2 separate regions of the Homo sapiens genome follow, and region 1 is linked to region 2. Evidence: promoter capture Hi-C in 16 types of primary human blood cells and fetal thymus (Javierre and others, 2016). All regions are on one chromosome and are shown on one strand. The core of a region is centred on a gene start or on the middle of the fragment in contact, and the rest is flanking DNA. Distances in the headings are between cores, read along the strand shown. Region 1 overlaps LINC00663 (long intergenic non-protein coding RNA 663). Region 2 holds the start of ZNF101 (zinc finger protein 101).

The links. Contacts are between HindIII fragments. The CHiCAGO score rates a contact against its expected background, and 5 or more counts as called.
Region 1: a contact is called between a fragment that was not itself captured here and the fragment with the promoter of ZNF101 in region 2, in 1 of 17 cell types (neutrophils). The highest score is 5.2, in neutrophils.

The regions. Positions count from the first base shown.
Region 1 is chr19:19,769,145-19,773,316 of GRCh38, forward strand. The region is part of intron 1 of LINC00663 (long intergenic non-protein coding RNA 663); the gene reads right to left. Among named protein-coding and RNA genes, the nearest start is that of LINC00663, 5.2 kb to the right of the region's middle. The HindIII fragment of the contact is 452 bases long and covers 2,192-2,643 here.
Region 2 is chr19:19,665,953-19,670,129 of GRCh38, forward strand. ZNF101 (zinc finger protein 101) reads left to right here and starts at 2,887. Exons shown (of 4, transcript NM_033204.4): 1 at 2,887-3,014. The coding sequence starts at 3,012. RefSeq lists enhancers at 2,576-3,142, 3,143-3,708 and a silencer at 3,097-3,296. The HindIII fragment of the contact is 10,038 bases long and covers 1,162-4,177 here.

The sequences.
Region 1 (4,172 bases), core at 1,168-3,667, 100 kb after region 2:
GGCTTACTGCAAGCTCCGCCTCCCAGGTTCACGCCATTCTCCTGCCTCAGCCTCCCGAGTAGCTGGCACTACAGGTGCCCGCCACCACGCCCGGCTATTTTTTATGTATTTTTAGTAGAGACGGGGTTTCACCGTGTTAGCCAGGATGGTCTCGATCTTCTGACTTCGTGATCCGCACGCCTCAGCCTCCCAAAGTGCTGGGATTACAGGCGTGAGCCACTGTTCCCGGCCTGACAACACTGATTAATAAATATGACCATGCATATTCTCTTTAGAAGAAACTCACTTCCAATATAAAAAGGTAAATTTAGAATAAGCCCTCTCCCTCTCCCCCTCCCCCTCCCTCTCCCCTTTGCACGGTCCTCGTCTCCCCTTTGCACAGTCTCCCTCTGATGCGGAGCCGAGGCTGGACGGTACTGCCGCCATCTCGGCTCACTGCAGCCTCCCTGCCTGATTCTCCTGCCTCAGCCTGCCGAGTGCCTGCGATTGCAGGCGCGCGCCGCCACACCTGATGGTTTTCGTATTTTTTGGTGGAGACGGGGTTTCGCCGTGTTGGCCGGGCTGGTCTCCAGCTCCTGACTGCGAGTGGTCTGCCACCCTCGGCCTCCCGAGGTGCCGGGATTGCAGACGGGGTCTCGCTCACTCAGTGCTCAATGTTGCCCAGGCTGGAGTGCAGTGGCGTGATCTCGGATCGCTACAACCTCCACCTCCCAACTGCCTGCCTTGGCCTCCCAAAGTGCCGAGATTGCAGCCTCTGCCCGGCCGCCACCCCGTCTAGGAAGTGAGGAGCGTCTCTGCCTGGCCGCCCATCGTCTGGGATGTGAGGAGCCCCTCTGCCCGGCCGCCCAGTCTGGGAAGTGAGGAGTGCCTCTTCCCGGCCATCATCCCGTCTAGGAAGTGAGGAGCGTCTCTGTCTGGCCGCCCATCATCTGGGATGTGGGGAGCACCTCTGCCCTGCCGCCCCATCTGAGATGTGAAGAGTGCCTCTGCCCGGCCGCGACCCCGTCTGGGAACTGAGGAGTGTCTCTGCCCCGCCGCCACCCCATCTGGGAGGTGAGGAGCGTCCCTGCCCGGCCGCCCCGTCTGAGAAGTGAGGAGCCCCTCCGCCCGGCAGCCGCCCCATCTGGGAAGTGGGGGGCAGCTCCCGTCCGGCCAGCCGCCCCGTCCGGGAGGTGTACCCAACAGCTCATTGAGAACGGGCCATGATGACAATGGCGGTTTTGTCGAATAGAAAAGGGGGAAATGTGGGGAAAAGAAAGAGAGATCAGATTGTTATTGTGTTTGTGTAGAAAGAAGTAGACATAGGAGACTCCATTTTGTTCTGTACTAGGAAAAATTCTTCTGCCTTGGGATGCTGTTAATCTATAACCTTACCCCCAACCCCGTGCTCTCTGAAACAGGTGCTGTGTCCACTAAGGGTTAAATGGATTAAGGGCGGTGCAAGTTGTGCTTTGTTAAACAGATGCTTGAAGGCAGCATGCTCTAAGAATCATCACCACTCCCTAATCTCAACTACCCAGGGACACAAACACTGTGGAAGGCGGCAGGGCCCTCTGCCTAGGAAAACCAGAGACCTTTGTTCACTTGTTTATCTGCTGACCTTCCCTCCACTATTGTCCTATGACCCTGCCAAATCCCCCTCTCCGAGAAACACTCAAGAATGATCAATAAATACTAAAAAAAAAAAAAAAAAAAAAAAAAAAAAGCAGAATAAAATCAGAAAAAAAAAGGTAAATTTAAAGTATAAGAAGCTGGGCAAGGCGTGGTGGCTCACTCACGCCTGTAATCCCAGCACTTTGGGAGGCTGGGGTGGGCGAATCACTTGAGGTCAGGAGTTCAAGACCAGCCTGGCCAACATAGTGAAACCCTGGCTCTACTAAAAATACAAAAATTAGCCAGGTGTGGTGGCTGGTGCCTATAATCCCAGCTACTTGGGAGGCTGAGGCAGGAGAATCGCTTGAACTGGGGAGGCAGAAGTTGCAGTGAGCCGAGATCACGCCACTGTACTCCAGCCTGGGCAACAGAGTGAGACTCCATATCAAAAATAAATTTAAAATAAATAAATAAAGTATAAGAAGCTGGAAAAAGATACAAGTAATCAAGGAAAGCATGAGTAGTTACAATAATATCGGATAAAGTAGATTTCAGAGAAAAAAATTGAGACATGGAGAGAAATTACATAATGATAAAAAGCTTAATCCACCCAGAAGACCCAGCAGTCCTAAATGTGTAGGCATAAATCAACAGACATGAAAAATGTGAAACAAAAACTGGAACAAACAGAGGAGAAACAGACAATAAGACAAATACACAATTATCGTTGGAGATATTGACATTTTTCTCTAAACAATAGAACAGAGAAAATTTCAGCAGCAAATCTAAAAAAAAGACAACAGTTCAACACCATCATTCATCAACAGGATCTGGTTGACATTTGTAGAGTAATTTAATCAACAGCAGCAGCATATGCATTCTCTTCAAGGGCTCATGGAACATAAAGTAAGATAGACCATCTCCTAGGCCATGAAACAAACTTCAACAAATTTTAAAAATCAGATTACACGGAGTGTGTTCTCGGATCATAATGGAGTCAGACTAGAAATCAATAATGTGAAGACAATGCAAACATCTCCAACTCTTGCAAGCTTGAAGGGGAAGTCCCTGGGAAAACAAAAAATACATTGACCACAAAGATGATGAAAAGACAATGGATCAAAATTTGTAAGACACAACTAAAGCAGTGTACTGAAGAAACTGATGGCACTAAACTCATATATTAGAAAAGGCTGGTCGGGCGCGGTGGTTCAAGCCTGTAATCCCAGCACTTTGGGAGGCCGAGGCCAGGAGATCCAGACTATCCTGGCTAACACGGTGAAACCCGGTCTCTACTAAAAATACAAAAAAAAAAAAAAAAAAAAAAAAAAAATTAGCCGGGCGTGGCAGCAGGTGCCTGTAGTCCCAGGCTGAGGCAGGAGAATGGCATGAACCCAGGAGGCGGAGCTTGCAGTAAGCCGAGATGGCGCCACTGCACCCCAGCCTGGGCGACAGAGCAAGACTGTCTCAAAAAAAAAGAAGAAAAAAAAGAAAAAAACTAAGTCTCCAGATAATCTAATTTTCCACATCGATAACCTGGGAAAAGGTCAAACTTAATAAACTAAACCCAAACAAAAGAAGTATTAAGAAAGAAATAATAAAGATAGGAAGAGAAATAAAGTTGAGACTCAGAAAGTAATAGAGAAAAACCAATAAAACAGACAGCTGATTTTTTTTGAAAAGATCAATTAAATAGACAAACCTCAAGCAAGACTAAGTGGGGGAAAGGACAAGACACAAATTACCCTGTCAGGAATGAAACAAGGGATATCGGCCAGGCGCGGTGGCTCACGCCTGTAATCCTAGTACTTTGGGAGGCTGAGTCAGGTGGATCACAAGGTCAGGAGTTCGAGACCAGCCTGGCCAATATGGTGAAACCCTGTCTCTACTAAAAATACAAAAAATAAAAATTAGCTGGGCGTGGTGGTGGGTGCCTGTAGTCCCAGCTACTCGGGAGGCTGACGCAGGAGAATTGCTTGAACCCAGGAGGTGGAGATTACAGTGAGCCAAGGTCGGGCCACTGCACTCCAGTCTGGCTACAAAGCGAGACTCCATCTCAAAAAAAAAAAAAAAAAAAAAGAAACAAAGGATATCATTACATACCCTGCAGACATAAAAAGAATAATAAAGTGTATTAGTCGTCTAGGGCTGCCATAAGAAAATACCAGAGTCTGGGTGAGTTAAAATAAATCATCTCACAGTTCTGGAGGCTGGAAGTCTAAGATCAAGGTCCCAGGACAGCTGGTTTCTCCTGAGCCCTCTGCGTATGGCGCCACCTTCCTCTGTATCCTCACATGGCCCTTTTCTTTTTTTCTTTTCTTTTCTTTTTTTTTTGAGATGGAGTCTCACTCTGTCACCGAGGCTGGAGTGCAGTGGCACGATCTCGGCTCACTGCGACCTCCGCCCCCCAAGTTCAAGCGATTCTCCTGCCTCAGCCTCCTGAGTAATTGGGATTACAGGCGCCTGCCACCGCGCCCGGCTAATTTTTTTGTATTTTTAGTAGAGACGGGGTTTCACCATCTTGGCCAGGCTGGTCTTAAACTCCTGACCTCGTGATCCACCCGCCTCAGCCTCCCAAA
Region 2 (4,177 bases), core at 1,637-4,136:
TACAGGTGTGAGCCACGGTGCCCAGTCCTAGTCTTGTTTTGTTTTCTTGGGACGGAGTCTCACTCTTGCCCAAGCTGGAGTGCAGTGTTGCAATCTAGGCTCACTGCAACCTCTGCCTCTTGGGTTCAAATGATTCTCCTGCCTCAGCCTCCTTAGTAGCTGGAATTACAGGCATGAACCACCATGCCTGCTAATTTTTGTATTTTTAGGAGAGACAGGGTTTCACCATGTTGGCCAGGCTGGTCTGGAACTCCTGTCCTGGCCTCAAGAGATCTGCCTGCCTCGACTTCCCAAAGTGCTACAGGTGTGACCCGCTGCGGCCACCCACTGCATATTCTGGTTTTTTTTTTTTTTTTTTTTTTTGAGACGGAGTCTCACTCTGTTGTCAGGCTGGAGGCTGGAGTGCAGTGGCGTGATCTCAGCTCACTGCAACCTCTGCCCTCGGAGTTCAAGCGATTCTCCTGCCTCAGCCTCCCGAGTAGCTGGGATTACAGGCGCCTGCCACTGCACCCAGCTAATTTTTTGTATTTTTAGTAGAGACGGGGTTTCACCTTCTTGGCCAGGCTGAGTCTTGAACTCCTGACCTCGTAATCCACCCGCCTCGGACTCCCAAAGTGCTGGGATTACAGGCGTGAGCCACCGGGCCCGGCTCTGGTTTTTTTTTTTTTTTTTTTTTTTTTTTTTTTTTTTTTTTTTTTGAGATGGAGTCATGCTCTGTCGCCCAGGCGCAATGCTGTGATCTCGGCTCACTGCAACCTCCTCCTCCTGGGTTCAAGCAGTTCTCCTGCCTCAGCCTTCTTAGTAGCTAGGATTACAGGCATGCGCCACCACACCTGGCTAATTTTTGTAATTTTAGTAGAGACGGTGTTTCACCATGTTGGGCAGGCTGGTCTCCTACTCCTGACCTCATGATCCGCCTGCCTGGGCCTCCCAGAGTGCTGGGATTACAGGCTGAGCCACCGTGCCCGGCTGCATATTATTAAGATACATGACTTCGTAAAAGGAGAAAGGAAATGTAATAGGACTTAATAATCACATAGTATCAAATAAGATAATCTTCAGTAAAAATAGGAATGACATGTTTCTGTCCCATGATACAGTTCGATATACTTACTTTTTCAGTTTTTTCTCCAATATTAATTCTTTCCCATACAAGGTCCAAGCTTCTGCTCTTGGAGTCTGGGACTGGACCCCTTTCTGGTAGCAATACCTTTATAGAATGTTTACTCCAGGCCGGGCACGGTGGCTCATGCCTGTAATCCCAGCACTTTGGGAGGCCAAGGCGGGCAGATCACGAGTTCAGGAGATCGAGACCATCCTGGCTAACACGGTGAAACCCCGTCTCTACTAAAAATACAAAAAAAAAAAAAAAAAAAAAAAATTGGCCGGGCATGGTGGCACATGCCTGTAGTTCCAGCTACTCGGACTCGGGAGGCTGAGGCAAGAGAATCTCTTGAACCTGGGAGGCAGAGGTTGCAATGAGCTGAGATCGTGCCACTGCACTCCAGCCTGGGCGACAGAGCCAGACTCCGTCTCAAAAAAAAAGAAAAAAAAAGTGGTTTACTCCAGTTTTTCCCTGCATTTAATAATTTTGTTCCCTTTAAGGCATGTTTTTATTTTCTTGGCTGAAAAGGAGTAGCCTGAGAAGAAGTAACGTGTAGGAAGCCTTGGCCATGGGACCAATAGCCTCATAAATTCCTGATCTCTGGAGGACATCAGGGCCTCCTACCTGTTCCATTGTGACCTGGGAGTCTCTCCAGCTCCAAGGTGGAGGGATGGCTTCACTGAACACGGAGTCTGGAATTCCGTGCACACTCATGTGACCGGTGTTCCGGAAAAAGAAGCAGGAGGCGGCTGGGCGCGGTGGCTCACGCCTGTAATCCCAGCACTTTGAGAGGCCGAGGCCGGCGGATCACGAGATCAGGAGTTCGAGACCAGCCTGGCCAACATGGTGAAACCCCATTTCTACTAAAAATACAAAAATTAGCCGGGAGTGGTGGTGGGCGCCTGTAATCGCAGCTACCCGGGAGGCTGAGGCAGGAGAATCGCTTGAAACCGGAAAGCGGAGGTTGCAGTTAGCTGAGATCGTGCCATTGCATTCCAGCCTGGGCAACAAGAGCGAAACTCCGTCTCAAAAAAAAAAAAAAAAAGCAGCAGGAAGGACCCACTGAGTACAGGAAGCCGACAGGGCCTGCTCCGGAAAACCAGGAGCTGTAAGGTCAGCCGAAAGGACGAAGAGACCTGAAGTCAGTCAAGTAAGTTTTATTAACCTGCTGGGCTGCTCCCCCACAGTTAGAGGAGGCAGCCCCGCTTACAGACTACAGCAGGGCTTTATAGGGCGAGGAACTGGGCTGGGGTGTGAGAACTGAGTCGGGGGTGCAGGTGTCCTGACCGCATCCTGGAGATGTTTTTGCCAGCTTTGTTATGCAAGGTGGGCAGGTGTTGTGACCGCATCCTGGAACTGTCTGCCGGTTCAGCTGAAGTCTTTTGAACAAACAGTTACTGGAAGGGTCAGTGGGGAGGAGGTCTACTTCTAGCCCGGGGGGAGTTGTGTGGCGGTCACAAAGGACTGTATTGTAAGACTGATGGGGGAAGGAGGGGAACAGTCTGGTTGGGTTGACCCTAACGGGAGCAAGTTCTGCTTCCATGCAAGTCCAGGTCCAAGGTCCCAGCGAGGGGCTGTGGGTAGCACCTGTCAGTCACACCCCACACAGCGAGCGGATTATTTGAGGATTCCGATCACCTCTCCTGTCGCTCAAGCCCCAGGGGCGGGACCTGGGGCACCAGCCAGTCAGAGGCGCTGTGCGGCAAACTGTCCAATCAGGTGCGCCGGGAGGAGGGGCAACTTCCAAAGCCCGAAGCGGTCTCATTTCCCGCCGGCCCCCCATTCGGGTCCGGGTTTTAGTTCCTCGGGGAGCCCCTGGTGCCCCGGATACGGCTGATTTTGTCGTGTGGGACCTGTTCTGGCTGCTCCAGCCCCAGGAAGGACCCAGGACACCCGGAAGCCGGAAATGGTGAGCGTGCGGAGCCGGGCGTCCGGAGACCTGAGGAGGAGCTGGTCGGAACCGGCAGTGGCTGGACCTGGGCCTCCCCGCGGCGACTGTGGGGGTCTGGGACCCGAGTCCCCCAGGCGCAGCTCGACCCTTGGTCCCCTCGGTCGCCGGGTGGAGCTGGACCAGCCGCCGGGACCCCGGGTGTCCTGTCCCGGCCCCGGAGCCCTCTCAGGGCAGCTCCGCGCCCGCAGCCCCGCGTCTCCCCAGATCGTGCGGGGGCCTCAGGAGGGTCTTAGGGGGAATCCCGCCTCGGGTGTGGGGTTCGTGCGGGAGGAGCCGTGGCCTGTGGGGTCCCCAGTTCCTCCTCCCTTAGGCGGTCCCCGTTTCCTTCGGAGTCTTCCAAAGGTGTGGGAAGCTGGGTTTCAAACCCACGACCCCGTCCCCCAGCTTCGCTCCTCCCAGGGCTGCAGTAAATCCCTAAATTTCCCCGCATTCCCCAACCCTAAGTTCTCCCTCCAGTACATCCACTTCACATTATTATTATTATCATTATTTCTATTATTTTTGAGACGGAGTCTCACTCTGTCGCCCAGGCTGGAGTGCAGTGGCACTGTCTGGGCTCACTGCAGCCTCCGTCTTCCGGGTTCAAGTGATTCTCCTGCCTCAGCCTCCTGAGTAGCTGGAATTACAGGTGCCCGCCACCACGTCCGGCTAACTTGTATTTTCAGTAGAGACAGGTTCACCATGTTGGCCGTGCTGAAGTCCTGATCTCAGGTATCTGCCTGCCTCGGTCTCCCAAAGTGCTGGGATTACAGGCTTGAGCCACTGCGCCTGGCAAGACCCAGTGTTTTAACTGTCATCTTTTCCAAGGAGCCCTAGATGGCACTTCTTAAAAAGTTCATTTTCCGTTTGTGAACATTTCACATGCGAGCAAAGCAGAAAATAACCCCCTGACACTCCGATGTTAAAAAAAAAAAATCACTGTGCCTGCCCTCTTTTTACCTTCCCTAGGCGCGGCCACCTTATCAGACAGTCTTTGGGTGGAGGCTTCTCTTGGGAACTTCACAGGGTATTGGGTCCTCAGCCCACCCTCCTATCTTTCTGGTCCTGGGTTTCAGGACCGTCCAGGGACTTCTTCCAGCTGCCCTCGGAAGAACGGGTGAAAAGTCTGTCCTGGCGTGGTT